4 separate regions of the Homo sapiens genome follow, and all the other regions are linked to region 1. The links are contacts of gene promoters, found by promoter capture Hi-C in blood cells and fetal thymus (Javierre and others, 2016). All regions are on one chromosome and are shown on one strand. The core of a region is centred on a gene start or on the middle of the fragment in contact, and the rest is flanking DNA. Distances in the headings are between cores, read along the strand shown. Region 1 holds the start of LTN1 (listerin E3 ubiquitin protein ligase 1). Region 2 holds the start of MIR155HG (MIR155 host gene). Region 3 overlaps MRPL39 (mitochondrial ribosomal protein L39). Region 4 overlaps GABPA (GA binding protein transcription factor subunit alpha).

Region 1 (3,694 bases), core at 381-2,880:
CAGTCTGCTCTGTCACCCAGGCTGGAGTGCAGTGGCATGATCTTGGCTTACTGCAACCTTCGCCTCCCGGGTTCAAGAGATTCTCGTGCCTCAGCCTTCCAAGTAGCTGGGATTGCAGGCACCTGCCACCACTGCCCAGCTAATTTTCGTATTTTTAGTAGCGATGGGTTTTTGCCATGTTGGCCAGGCTGGTCTCGAACTCCTGACTTCAGGTGATCCACCTGCCTCGGCCTCCCACAGTGGTGGGATTACAGGCATAAGCCACTGCACCTGGCTTTTGTGTGCATTTTAAAATCAGGGTCCAGTCAGGAAAACAGAAATCACATTAGTTATTGAGAAATATTTTAATATGGGAAATTGGTCAAAAGGAATTATAAAAGGTAACAGGTAATCACTGCAGGTAGCAGCTACCATTCCTAGAGCTAGGAAAGGATGGAACAAAAGAAGTGGTTGGAGTCATCAGAACCTAAAAGCTTGAAGGAGGGCCCTGAACACCTTAGTTCAGGCCTATGAAGAATGAAGAGAGGGTGATGGCTGGCTGTTACTGGATCTCTGGAGCACAAAGAAGGGATCCCACGGTGTTGAGGCTCAAACTTCTGAGGAGGTGGCTCAAACATTGGCTATCTCAGGAGCTCAGGGGAGGGGCCGCATGAAAGTAGAATTCAGATCTCTGAGGAGAGCACTGACTGCTGCTGTGATCTCTGAGGGGTGCAATAAGGCTGATTCTGTGATTGTTGGAAAAAGGATAGAGATTAAAACCACCTTTTGGCTAAAGCAATTGCTCCTGCCACGGTAAAATGCAGCTGCTGCTGGCATGATGCTTACAGAATGGAGCAAGTCCCTTCTTCCTCTTGCCTTTGTTTCCCTCTTGTTCGTCCTGTTGGTGGAATCTAGCAGAAGCCCCCCCAGTAACATGGAGTTGAGTATAAAAGGGTGACTGCGTGGACAAGAAACAATAACCAGCACACATTTACTTGTTTCTCTGGTGTGATTCTGAGTCGCACAATCAATGGGTTACAGGATTTGTACATTTCAAATTTTAATAGGGACTCCCACATTATCCTCTTTCCTAAACTGCACGTTAACAGTTTCAATATGAATAAAAGGGGACGGGGAGGGGAGATTTAGAGAGAATAGTGCCTACAGCAGTAATCAAATTTTAACAAGACTTGGGAATACTGTCAAAATGCAGGATCTGATTCAGGAGTTCTGAGGGGCCCGAGTTGGCCTTTTCTAAAAAACGCCCAGGTGATACTGATGATTGCATCATGTTGGAAGTCTAAAACACTCCCATCTTCCCACAGCCTCTACCATAACATTCTAATGCTACCCTTATGTGAAACTGCCCCTCTGATGATTCACGCCAGTTTCCTACCCTCTAAGCAAGGAACAAACCTAGCTTCTGAAAGCGGGGAGGACAGGATTTGGCGCCACGGGTCCAATGCTTGGCTTCCTATTGGCCAGGAATGACATCACTCAGACAGGCGTGGCTTTAGCTGTGACGTCTCCGGTGGCGGATGGTCAGGGACACAGCGGGAGGCGGGAGCGGAAGTGGGGCAGCAAATGGACAGGGTGGGTGGCGGAAAAGGGCCCGGGGGAAGTTATTACAGGGTGTCCTCTTCCGCCGCCAGAAGCCGGAAGTTGTGTCCCGGACGTGTCAACCGGGGTCTGAGTGCTCAGAGTACAGCTGCAACCGCGACCATGGGCGGGAAGAACAAGCAGCGAACTAAAGGGAACCTGAGGGTGAGCGGGGGCTGGCTCGGCCGACCCGGGAGCCTCGCTTCGAGGCGGCTGGCTCCGCCCAGCGCGTTGCTGGAGGGTGTGTGGAGCGCGGCTGTAGGGAGGCGTGTGTTTCCCTGTCGAGTGTGACCTCTCTGTTGTGTGTGCGTCCCTGAGAGCGGTTTGTGTTATCTCTGAGCAGATTGGGGAATCGTGAGAGAAAAGATGTACCATGCCAGAGCTGTCCTCATCCGAGCACACACCCATAATATTCATGAAGAAATGATAATGTGTCAGGTTCACTGGAAGGTGATCTGGCCGAGGTAGCGGGTTGGTTGGGGGAGGGCGGCGCTGGGAAGAAGGAGAGTTGGGAGAATGTTAAAGTGAATCCACTGTGGAGGTTACCGCAGATTGTGCCTCTCCTTTGCTACCTACAGTGGCTTCTCCTAAGCTAAAGCTCTTAGGATGGTATATTTGGTTTCTGGACTGCCTGTTACCCCTTTCCATCTGCAGTCCCATCTTCAGCTCCCTCCTCTTGGCTTACTTCATCCAGCCACACTGATCTCTTCACTGTGCCTTGACTACCTGGCCGGCTCCCAACGCTCTTCAGTTAGGTGGCTCCAAACTTTGCTCTCGACACCTCAGTGAGGTCTCCCATGATCACCCTCTTGGTAGCCCTTCCCCACTCCCATGTTCTTCCTACTTTATTTTACTCCATTGTATTTATGACATTTATTGTCTTGGTTCACTAGGACGTAAGTATTTTGAAAGCAAATGTTTTTATCCTCGGAACCTAGAACAGACTGGCACCTAATAGACGCTCACTAAGTACTTGCTTAAGGACGACCTTAAAGTGGATTCGTGTAAAACTACACGATGAGGGGTTTTGTAATGGTATTTTTTTATGGTGTTAGATTTATTATAGCACAGTCCAATTTTATGAGAATGCTTTTTTTTCCTGTTTCTGATGTAGTTAATTCTAGTGATTTCAATGTCACATTTTCTTAGATCTGTCACTTAATCTGTTTTGGAAGATAATAACAGTATTAACAATTATAGCAACCTGTTGTGTTACTGTGCTAAGCACTTTACTTGCATCTTTTAATGTTTTTTATTTAACAGATTTTCTCAAATGTTTTATATTTGAAAAGTTCTTATGAGGAAAAGTTGCAAGAATATTAGAACGACATCCCATATACTCTTTACCTACATTTACCAATTGCTAATACTTGGTTGCATTTGCTTTCTCTCTCTTAATTTATGTATTTTTCTGAACTTATAAGAGTTAGTTGCAGAAGTCGGGACTCTTAACTCCTAAATACATCAGCATGTATCTTCTAAAAACAATGCCATTTTCTAGCCTGCAGCAATTATAATAATGGTTATAGTATGCAGAAACTTTGACTTTTGTATAATACTGTAATCCAGGATACAGCCTTGTATTTAGACTTCTGTAGTTATCCCAATAATGTTCTCTTTTTTCTTTTTTTTTTTTTTGTAAGACAGGGTCGCTCTGTCTCCAAACCTGGAGTGTGGTGGTATGATCATGGCCCACTGCAGTGTCAACCTCTTGGGCTCAAGCGGTCAGTCCTCCCACCTCAGCCTCCTTAGTAGCTAGGACTCCTGGCTAATCTTTTTTTTTTTTTTTTCGGGGACAGAGTCTGGCTCTGTTACCCAGGCTGGAGTGCAGAGGCGTGAACTTGGCTCACTGCAATCTCCGCCTCTCGGGTTCAAGTGATCCTCCCAGCTTAGCCTTTCCAGTAGCTAGGACTACAGGTACAGGCCATCACGGCTAGCTTATTTTTGTAGGGACAGAGTTTTGCCATGTTGCCCAGGCTGGGACTTTTTTAAAAAGATAAACCGTTTTAACATCTGAGATTCAGTCAAGGATCACTCATTCCATTTAGTTACCATTTGGGTTTCTTTGATCTAGACAGTTTCTCAGTACTGTTTAAGCGGGGAGAGGAGTGTCTTT
Region 2 (3,694 bases), core at 627-3,126, 3.4 Mb after region 1:
GTCTCTCCAGTGTCTAGCATAGCGTCCAGCACAGGCAGACTATGATGCCTGTTTTTTTTTTGTTGTTGTTTTTTTTTTTTTTTTTTTGGTAAAGACCAGTGAATTACACTTTTTACACATGACTAGGTTAAAACAAAAGTAGACATTTGTGCAAACACCACTGTTCTCCCTTGAAGTGGTTGTAGGTCTCAGACAGTGCTAATTTTTCTCTTTCTTAATGTGTGTGGTTAGGAAGCTGGGTCCTGTGGCCAGAGTGAGCTGACCCACTATGTGAGGAAACTTACTTATCACAGCCTAATAAGGAGTAGTCCTTGCAGCAGAAGTAATTACTAAATGTGCTTTGGTCATTTGACAGAAATCAGGGAGGCAGCAAGGAGTCATGGAAATGAGCCCAAACTGAGAGTCAAAACCCTGTGGTCTGCCGACACCCCCATCCCACATCCGTACCTAAAAGCAGGCTGTGCACTAGGGACCTAGTGACCTTACTAGAAAAAACTCAAATTCTCTGAGCCACAAGTCCTCATGGGCAAAATGTAGATACCACCACCTAACCCTGCCAATTTCCTATCATTGTGACTATCAAATTAAACCACAGGCAGGAAGTTGCCTTGAAAACTTTTTATAGTGTATATTACTGTTCACATAGATAAGCAATTAACTTTACATATACCCGTTTTTAAAAGATCAGTCCTGTGATTAAAAGTCTGGCTGCCCTAATTCACTTCGATTATACATTAGGTTAAAGCCATATAAAAGAGGCACTACGTCTTCGGAGAGATGAATGGATATTACAAGCAGTAATTTTGGCTTTGGAATATACACATAATGTCCACTTGACCTCATCTATTTGACACAAAATGTAAACTAAATTATGAGCATCATTAGATACCTTGGCCTTTTCAAATCACACAGGGTCCTAGATCTGCTGTGTGATGCTGGAAAAGTAACTTCACTTCTGTGGGCCTCAGCTCCTTAATTTTTAACATACTTTGGATTCTTATATCTTTGTCAGCTGTCAACTTCAGTGTTTTCAGGTTAAATTCTATCCATAGTCATCCCAATATACCTGCTTTAGATGATACAAACTTCAAAAGATCCGGCTCTCCCTCGTAAAACGTGGAGGACAGACATCAAGGGGGTTTTGTGAGTAAAGAAAGGCAACCGCTCGGCAAAAACGCACCCTGGCACAACAGGAGCGAATAAATACAGACGCTGATTGAGCGTTTGCTCCATCTTCACTTCTGTTAAATGAAGACATTGATATCTAAAATGCTATGAGTCTAACTTTGTAAAATTAAAATAGATTTGTAGTTATTTTTCAAAATGAAATCGAAAAGATACAAGTTTTGAAGGCAGTCTCTTTTTCCACCCTGCCCCTCTAGTGTGTTTTACACACTTCTCTGGCCACTCCAACAGGGAAGCTGGTCCAGGGCCATTATACAGGTACGTCCCCAACCATCCAAGGAAACTTTGCAAAGAAGCTCAAGTATTAGGTTTCGAACACCCCTCCTTCCCCCTGCCTCTGCCCGCGGGAATCCATCCAGCGCAATCTCTGGTCCCGGGCGAGGCGACACCACTGAGTCCCCAGGGGGCACCCGCAGGCGCGCGCGGGACCAGGCCGGGCTCCACGGCCACGTGCGCGCTGCCCCCGCCTTGCCTCGCCAGTTAACCCGGCGGTGACCCTCGCACCGAAGTCCCCCGGCGTCCCTGCCACGTTCAAGAGAGGAAAGGCGGGCGGGAGCGCGAGACTGAAGTCGGCGTACCTGCAGTGCCAGGAGCGTCTCCTTGGTTCCCCGCGCTTGCTCTGCGGGCGGCTCGGGGCTCCGCTATCCGCTCCCTTCCCGAGGCTGCAGGCGGCGCTGGGCCCGGGCTCGGCCGCGCACAGGAAGCCCGCGCCTGCGAACGTGCGACCCTTTTATAACTCACTTGTGACTCATAACCGACCAGGCGCCTTTTCTGCAACCCCCCCCCCCTTCTCCCCCCTCCTGCCTGTTCTTGGAACCTACAGCTTGAAAAACTTTTTTCTTTTTAAAGGAAAAGTCGAAAAAGCCCAGCGCCCGGGTAGTTGGTGTTTTCCCCTTTCCCTTTCTCGTGGGTCATTGCGTGTGTGTATTTTTTTTCTCTCAACACACGCCGTGTACTTTCCTGCACCGCGCCGCAAGGCTTGGGCTCCAACCTTTGTTCTTAAAGAAAAGGAAACGCCTTCAAATGACGGCCCAGACGTCGCCCGAACTTTCAGTCGGCTGGAGGGGGAAGTGGCGACTTCTTGCAACTGGGTGGCAGGAGTGTCTCTACTCTCTCCTTGCAGGGAGCCCGAGAGGAGCAAGTGGGAGGTTTTTCCTCCTGGACCGAATCAGCTGGAGACCAGCAGGTCCCTAAGAGAGGAAGAAATGGTCTTCAGGCGATCCTGGATTTCATCCCTACCTCATCACCCTTCAAGAGCCCGCGTTTGGTTTGGAATACGTAACTGGGCTTTGAGAACGTTTGTACTGTGTCTGGTACCCGCATTTATACTCGGGATGTCAAGATATAGGACTTAAAACTTCAAAAATTTTGACCTCAACAACATTCTCCCCCTGCCCTCCACTCCCATCTCCAGGACATATTCCTGGAGCATATGGGACTTCGGTCGTTTTAATTTTTGGTTTTGTCGCTTCTCTCTTTTCTCCCGGACCCTGCCACAAGGGGAACATTTTCCTGGAGCAGCCATTTGATTTTGGGGGATGGAAAGGAACAAATAGATCTAAAGCCTGGCAAGTTTATCCTACAAGCCTAGTCGAGTAACTCATTCATGGGTCTCAGTTCAATAAACGTTTAGACTTGAAGAAGAATAAGGAAATATGGGGAAGAGAAGGAGGACAGGAATAGATCTAGCCTCATCAACATGTGACTGGGGCCTTTTTGTAAGAAAGACGGGGCCACTGCTGGATTGCATTGCAAGTATCCAGTACTTGGACCTCCCTGTCAAGGGCACAAGACATTTTAGAATAGTTTGTATTAAACTGATGCCAGTTACATGTCAGAATACATGTCAGAGCTGGAAATCCCATAGTACTTAATTTACAGATGGCTCAGGTTGGTTAAGGAACTTGGGAGCATTTTAAAACCCTCTATTCTTAAGATACATGCTTTTTCTCTTATAATTCAAACAAGAATAATCATGATGATAACAACTAACACTTATAAAGCATTTACCATGTGCCAGATCCTGTCCTAACACTCCTTATATGCATTAACTCTTTCAGTCCTCACTATGATCATATGAGGGAGGAGCATTATAATCTCTATTTCCAGATGAGGAAACTGAGCACAGAGAGATTAAACATGTTACCTTAGATCCTAGTAAGTAGTCAAGCTGAGATTCAAACTCAGTTCCAACCCTGGAGGGCTGGCTCCGTAGTCCAGTCTCCCTGCTTTCCAGATCCATGTGACGTTGAGGAGCTGGGGAAGTTGTGCAGTGGGGCATGTGGCAAGGATGCATGGTCCCCACCCAGGTGGGGCACGTCCCTCTGCTGGTTACAGATGCCTACAATGCCTTTCTGAATTTCCCATTTCTCATTCTAGGTTGAACTATAAGAAATTGCCCATAGGCAATTCTAGGGTGACCTTTCATCCCCAGAATGACAAGTTTGTATAATGCACTTTAATAGAAACAGGAAATTGCTCAATCCTCCCTTCTCCCAGTGGTGGAAGT
Region 3 (3,694 bases), core at 1-2,500, 3.4 Mb after region 1:
ATACCAGTTTGAAGAATATAAACTTTTAATTTTTCTTAAGTTATGTGACACTAATATTTTATAAACTCAGGTTTATGATTAAAAACAAAGTTGCCCAGGGTGTAAATATACAATTACAAAAGAAACATTAGTTGAAAAAATTAAATTGACATAGCATTTAAAAATTTCAAGTTAGCATAGGTGAGGGTACATTGACAGAGGGGGTATTAGAGTGCGTATTGGTAAGACTTCCTGGAATGCCTTTTAAGCTTAAATTTGGCATGCTCTTCCCTCTAATTTTAATGATCCATCATGACCCGAAGCCTGACATTTTCCACATTGCTCCCACCCCTTGCTAATCTTTTTATTTAAATTTTTGATTTTGAGATAATTGGGTTATAAGACATAGAGAGATCCCATGTACCTTTACTTGGTTTCCTCAATGGTAGCATCTTGCAGTACTAAAATACAGTATCACCACCAGGGTATGGACAGCGATACAATGAAGATACAGGACAATTCCTTCACTACGGGGATCCCTCATGTTGGCCTTTTATAGACACACGCATTTACAGCCACTTCCCTCTGTTGCCCCCATTACCCTGCCTGCTTACCCCTGCCAACTACTTATCTGTTTTCCTTTTCTATAATTTTGTCACTTCAAGAATATTGTATGAATGGGATCAAACGGTATGTAATTTTTTGGGATTGGCACTTTTCACTCAGTATAATTCTCTGGAGATTTCATCCGAGTACATTGAGTATATCAGTAGTTCATTCATTCTTATTGCTAAGTAGTATTACTTGGTCTGGATGTATCATGGTTTGTTTAACCATTCATCCATCAAAGGACATCTGAGTTATTTTCAGTCTTTGGCTATTACAAATAAAGCTGCTGTGACATTGTGTGCAGGTTTTTGTGAATATTTCTCTGGGATAAATACCCAGGAGTGCAATTGCTGGGTCATATGATAAGTGTATGTTTAGTTTTTTAAGAAACAACCAAAGTGTTCCAGAGTGACGGTACCATTTTACATTCCCACTGGCAATGTGTGAGTGATCAGTTTTTCCACATCCTCACTAGCATTTGATGCTGTCACTACTTTTTTTTTTGTTTTAGTCATTCTGATATGTTTGTAGTGATTTCTCATTGTAGTTTTAATTTGAATTTCTCTGTTGACCAATGGTATTGATCATTTTTTCATGTACTTATTTGCCATCTGTATATCTTCATTGGTGCAATGTCTGTTTATGTCTTTTGCTAGTGTTCTAATTAGATTGTTTTACTTTTTAACAGTTGAGTTTTGAGAGTTCTTTATATGTTGTAGATACTAGTTTTTTGTTAGATATGTAGTTTTCAGATTTCTCTCTTTTTCTGTCTGTACCTTGTGTTTGTATATGTGGCTTGTTTTCTCATTCTCTGAGCAGCCTTTTGCAGAGAAGTTTTTAATTTTGATGAAACTAGTTTATTAAAATTTGATAACATTTTTGTTTTTATAGATTATGTTTTTGGGGTTAATTCTAAGAACTCTTTGACCAGTCCTACATCCCAAAGATTTTCTCCTTTTTTTTTTCCCTCCTAAAAGTTTTAGAGTTTTACATTTGTTTAAATCTGTGGTCCATTTTGAGTTAATTTTTCTATGAGTGTGAGATTTAGGTTTAGGTTTTTTTTTTTTTTTTTTTTTTTTGTGGGCTATAGATGTCAGATTGCTCCAACACCATTCGTTGAAAAGGCCACTCTTCCTCCACTGAGTTACTTTTGCATCTTTGTTAAAAATTAGCTGAGCATATTTATGTAGGCCTATTTTTGGGTCCTCTATTCTGTTCCATTGATCACATATGTTTAGCTCTCTACCAGTACCACCCAGTCTTGATTACTGTAGCTCTAAATAGGCTGTGAAATCAGGTAGAGTAATTCCTCCCTTGTTACTGTTTTTTAATCAAAATTGTTTTAACTCTTCTAGTCTCTTTGAGTTTCCATTTAATGTTAGGATAATATTTTCAATGTCAACAGAGTCTTCCTGAGATTCTGATAAGTCCATTAGACCTGTATAGCAGTTTGGGGAGAATTGACATCTTTAATATGTTGAGGTTTCCAGTCTATGAACTTACTGTATCTTCTTATTTATTTATATCTTCTTTCATCCCTCTCATTTTGTAAAATTTAGCACACCTCTCCTATACATTTGACTTTGACTTTTCTCCACATACCTGCTTCCTTTCCTAGCCTTCCCAATTTCAGAAAATGGGATCATCCTTTAACTCAAGCTTGTCCAACTCACAGCCCATGGGCTGCATGCAGTCCAGGACGGCTTTGAATGAGACACAAATTTGTAAACTTTCTTAAAACATTATGAGGTTTTCTTGCGATTTTTTTTTTTTTTTAGCTCATTAGCTGTCATTAGCGTTAGTATATTTTATGTGTGGTCCAGGACAATTCTTCTTCCAGTGTGGCCCAGGGAAGCCAAAAGATTGGATACCCCTGGTTTCCTTAGTTGTTTAAGGTAATCCTTGATTCTCTTTTCCCCTCATAGCCATGCCCCAGCCCATCCATCCGCAAGTCCTTTCAACTTTTAACTCTGAAACATATTCTGAATCTATGCACCTTATAACATCTCATCTACTACTACTTCCCTTATCCAAGTTCCTCTTTGTTTTCACTCACCTTCCTTGCTTTCACTCTTGCCATCTACAGTGCATTTTCCACTTAGTAGCCAAAGTGATCTTTTTAATACACAATCTGTTATGTACTTCCTCTGCCCCAAACTTTCCAATGGCTTCCCTTGAACAAATCCCAACTCTTTACCCTGTCTCACAAAGCCCTGCATTATCTGGTCCCTGCCTGCTTCTCTGACTTTATCTAACACCACTCCTTTCCTCACTCACTATATTCCAGCCACAGCTTAAGGTCTCTGCACCAGCAGTTCATTCCGCCTGAGTCAGGCATGGTTTTCCCTTTAAACATACCAGTCAGCTCTTTCCCTGGAAGGGTTTGTATGTTGATATTTATTAATTTTACCTTTTATTATAGATTTTATGAGCTCATTCAGTGTGGAGTAGTCACTGGCCTGCCCATATGTCTTGTTACCACTTTCAGTTGACCTAATAAAATTGATGTGGTCATGATACACTTTGCACAGTTTTCTTTAATGCATTCTGATAATCCTCTGCTACAGGAGGTTGTTATGGACTAAGGAAATTGAGTTTAAATTTTACTATTGTCTTGGGAGGCTGAGGCAGGAGAATTGCTTGAACCTGGGAGGCGGAGGTTGCAGTGAGCTGAGATCGCACCACTGCACTCCAGCCTGGGCGACAGAGTGAAACTCCATTTCAAAAAAAAAAAAAATTTACTATTGTCTTTGTTAGGTTTTACTTATTCTTTAGGGTAACTTGATGAATCCTCTGCTTCTGCCATTTCAGTGTGAAGATGTCACAGTTGGTTTTTAATGACTGTCTTCTTGTGATTGCTTATGATTTGAAGAATGACTTCTAGAATGTTGAAACTGGCTGTTTAAGGATTGAACCACAGTCTATGGGAAAGTAGGGCAGATTTTTGCTTCCTATTAGAAGAAATGCTTTCTATGATGGAAATGATTAAGATGGGCAAAAGTGAAAGAAGGGCACGTTCAATCCTTAAGCGTTTTTTTCTTAAATGCTCACTGCAACCTCTGCCTCCCGGGTTCATGCGATTGAAGAAAGCAAAAAAGCAGCTATC
Region 4 (3,694 bases), core at 504-3,003, 3.2 Mb after region 1:
AAATACATCTTAATAATGAATTTATTTTAACTTAATGTTCCAAATGTTATTTCAACTGGTAATTAATATAAAAAATTAGAAAAGATTTTATACTTTTTCTTTTAATGGGTATTTTTACATTTACAACCCATCTTAATTTTGACCAGAGACACTTCAAGTGCTGACGTGTGATTAGTGGCTACAGTACTGGGCAGCGGAGGGACAGACTGAAATTCTACATTAGCTGTCTGGTTCCATAGCTCTCTTTCAGTTCCATGGGTAAGCTCTCTCATTTACTGTGTATCTTTTAGGTTTGGTTTAAAGAAAGAAAAAAAATGTCCTAGGGAAAACAGTGGTTCTACAATACAGCCTTTCTGTCATCAGCCCTGCTCCCCAGGTACAACCTTGTCTCTAAAAATAAAAAATAAAAAAAGGACAAAAACCCGACAATACTGTTTCATTTACAAATACACTCAGGTCCCCGCCAACTCTTGGAAGATCAGTATTATTTATTTGTTACCCCAGCATTCTTCCTCATCTGCCCCCATTTCTAAGATATCTATTTCTTATAATTCTGTTTTGTCTCGCCAACTCTAGTTACTTCTGTCTAAATTTAAGAATAATCCTCTGATCATCAAATTTAATAGATATCAGTCAGCATTCTTTGACTTTCTCAGCAGCATCTGAGAGTCTTGACCATCCAAACTCTCCCCTCAATTTCAGTGACACTATACATATAAGTTATTACTTTCTTTCTGTCTCTTCAGTTATTTCTTGTCTCCCTTTTCTCCAACCCTAAATGTTTACAGGGTCAAGTGTATATGCCTTTAGTTGTGTGTTCTTTTCCATTTCTCGCTTTCCATCAGGGACTACGTAGACTTTTATAGCTTCAAATATAAATTCAGTGGGAATGAGTCTCATATAACATCTTTGTCTCCAGCCCAAATCTTATATAACTGAAACCATTTTCTGGCTAACCTCCAGCTGAATATAAACTTCCACATCAAAATCAAGTGCTATCCACCTTCTCTTGAAAAAAACATTTCCTATACCAGACTTCTCTACTTCCCCAACTGGGCTTTTGAAAGCATGCTCTTCATAGTGCACCATCTTAATTAAGCCCAGCATTTAACATGGTGCCTGGTGTACGGTAGTGTTCACTAAATATGTAATGATGATGGAACCAATTTTTATCAAGATTATTACTGTTTTAGTCACCAAGATGAAGCTTGAGAAGTTAGATCAATACTTGTATCTTCCCTCTCTACCCTCATAAAATCTGTCAATCTGCTCAGTCCTATCACTGTTTTCATCCACTTTTTCCTTGCTACTCCCAAAGAAATCATCTGGAGTCTGGGCTAATGTAGACATTATCATCCAGTCACAACTATAATAATATGCTCCTGTTTTCCCTTCACTTAGTCTCTACCTGTTCCAACTTATGCCATATATTGCCACCATATTCATTTTTCAATTATCATTTTCATCAATCAAAAACAGTTCTGTAATGCTACAGAGTAACTCCTTAACCACTCCATTTTCTCACTACTCATGCATACCCCCAGGTCTAAGCTTTGCACATAACATTTCCTGTCTTAAATGTCTTTCTCTGCCCAATGGTATCTTATTTATAATAAACTCTTTTCAGCTTTCCCTCAGGGCAACTATGATCTCTTTGAGATTCCAATAGCATACTTCTACAAGAGTTACTGGCAGTTTAAAAACATGTTACCTTTTATGGCAATCATCTCTTTTCATCTATCTTCTCTCTCTTCAACTACACTCTCAACACCCTAAGAGCAGAAATTTTTTAGACTTCTTTGTATTTCCTGCACGCAGGACAGAATTTGTCCACCACATGAGCTTAAATGTGCGTTACAATTAAAAGAGAGATACAGAAAATCAACATTCATCCTAATAACTCTACATGTAAAATAGATTATAACTTACCCTAGTGTCTTCTATGTCAAGCTTAATTCCTATTATTCTACCCAATATAGAATTATGCATTTTATTACCATAGGGTATCCCAAGGCGTTCTTGTTCTTTCCTATAGCCTTCCAGTGCAGCAGCCCATCTTGTCACTTGTTCTGAAGTTTCATCTGAAATGGTTGTGATGTGTTTTGTGCCATCAAGAGTTATCACTTGAGCTTCTTCAACAAGATGTGCTTCTGATTCAGCATGGTGGGCATCTGGATCAATAACAACCTCAACAGTGTCCGCAGGTTTAACAATTTCAAGGATGTTTAACTTTGGTTCAATTCCTGAACAGTGGATAAAAAAAAATTGTAAATCTAAATGAAAACGCAGAAGTCACCAAAAAATAATTTAGTTTATATGTTCCCAAATGGTAGAGAAAAACTACATCGAATAAAGCAAATGTAGTAAAAGTTAACATTTGGGGAATCTGGGTGAAGGATATTCAAGAATTCTTTTACTAGTCTTGCAACTTTTCTACAAGTTTAAAATAATTTTATAAAAAATAAGACACACACACAAACCCTACCTATAAACATCATTAGAAAAAAAGAAGTACCAGTTCTTACCACAATAAAATAAATAGATAAATAAAAATAAAAATTACCAATACGAAACAATAAAAATTAGACTAGGCAGAGTATAAATGAGCAGCTACCTATCCTTGGAATTTTAAAAAATCCTTCTAAGCAAATTAAAATTATTATTTACTGACTCAGTTTTTCTTTTTAAAGGACAAAGTAGATGTGTTAAAAATTATGCCAAATTTACTAAATTAAATTAACCATTAAATTCTAAATTTCATTTTAAATGAGATGAAGAAAAACCCAAATCCTGAATATTTTAAGCTCCTAGTATAAAGGTGTTAAGAACTGTAATTCCTATGGAAAAAATAAAAAATAAAAATAAATAATTTATTAATACAAAGGCTCCTCAACTATCCAGAATTAAATCAAAATTCTGATTTTGATTTAATTCTGGATAGTTTAAAACACATTTAAACTATTAAATTATAATTTGATTATACCTAATTAAATTATAATTAAGCCAAGAAATTATGCCATAAAAACAGTTATTTCATTATGTGTGCAGTACTCTCTATAAGATATACTTTTATTTATCTATTCAAAATGGAATTAGCCCTTTACGAAATAACCTCAGACTAAAATGACAGCTCTAAGACACTGTCATATTACATAACTGCTTCTGTTTCTTACTGAATCTATTACAATCTATATCAAAATTCAATCAAAGTACAGCTTAAAGAAAAAGCACAACTCAACTTCGATCTTCTGTGAAAACCAGTATTGCAAGAAACTACTACTATCATTCTCAGGTAGTTTAAAGAGAATCATTTTTCAAATATACATGATAAAAACAATCAGAATCAAAAATATTTTTTGTTAAAATCTATTTCCTAATCCTTCATCTAGATTTCATACTTTAATGGCTTTAAGCGAACTCTTCTTAAACATACTTGCATCAAGAGGTCACTAGGCTTTTAAAGATAAAAACTACTAATTTATTTCCTATTCCCAATAATCAGTCCTGAGGGAATTAAGGATCAGAAGTACGTAACTACCATTGTCAGAGTCTGAAGAAAAATGTGGTTTGTGAAACATAATTGTGAACAATATATGTTCAGAGATGAAATTATTCTAAATTTTAAAAAGCTAAAATTCAACCTACCAAAAACAGTTTCCTAATTTTCTTTTCTAACTTGGGTACTTATACAAGT

Evidence for each region. The method cuts DNA at HindIII sites, captures the fragments that hold promoters and counts their contacts. A CHiCAGO score of 5 or more calls a contact.
Region 2: a contact is called between the fragment with the promoter of MIR155HG here and the fragment with the promoter of LTN1 in region 1, in 2 of 17 cell types (total CD4 T cells and non-activated CD4 T cells). The highest score is 7.6, in total CD4 T cells.
Region 3: a contact is called between a fragment that was not itself captured here and the fragment with the promoter of LTN1 in region 1, in 3 of 17 cell types (total CD8 T cells, naive CD8 T cells and naive CD4 T cells). The highest score is 9.8, in total CD8 T cells.
Region 4: a contact is called between a fragment that was not itself captured here and the fragment with the promoter of LTN1 in region 1, in 2 of 17 cell types (total B cells and non-activated CD4 T cells). The highest score is 5.9, in total B cells.

The regions. Positions count from the first base shown.
Region 1 is chr21:28,990,813-28,994,506 of GRCh38, reverse strand. LTN1 (listerin E3 ubiquitin protein ligase 1) reads left to right here and starts at 1,630. Exons shown (of 30, transcript NM_015565.3): 1 at 1,630-1,743. The coding sequence starts at 1,702. It overlaps LOC105372766 (a long non-coding RNA gene), which reads right to left and starts at 1,404. Exons shown (of 3, transcript XR_007067835.1): 1 at 1,376-1,404; 2 at 826-937; 3 at 326-725. RefSeq lists enhancers at 1,346-1,405, 1,716-1,825. The HindIII fragment of the contact is 7,723 bases long and covers 476-3,694 here.
Region 2 is chr21:25,560,327-25,564,020 of GRCh38, reverse strand. MIR155HG (MIR155 host gene) reads right to left here and starts at 1,876. Exons shown (of 3, transcript NR_001458.3): 1 at 1,764-1,876. RefSeq lists silencers at 1,532-1,811, 1,822-1,911 and an enhancer at 2,292-2,341. The HindIII fragment of the contact is 13,141 bases long and covers 1-3,694 here.
Region 3 is chr21:25,589,053-25,592,746 of GRCh38, reverse strand. All of the region lies in intron 8 of MRPL39 (mitochondrial ribosomal protein L39), which reads left to right. Among named protein-coding and RNA genes, the nearest start is that of LINC00515, 7.7 kb to the right of the region's middle. The HindIII fragment of the contact is 1,999 bases long and covers 251-2,249 here.
Region 4 is chr21:25,750,538-25,754,231 of GRCh38, reverse strand. It overlaps GABPA (GA binding protein transcription factor subunit alpha), which reads right to left. Exons shown (of 10, transcript NM_002040.4): 5 at 1,998-2,243. Among named protein-coding and RNA genes, the nearest start is that of GABPA, 17 kb to the right of the region's middle. The HindIII fragment of the contact is 399 bases long and covers 1,554-1,952 here.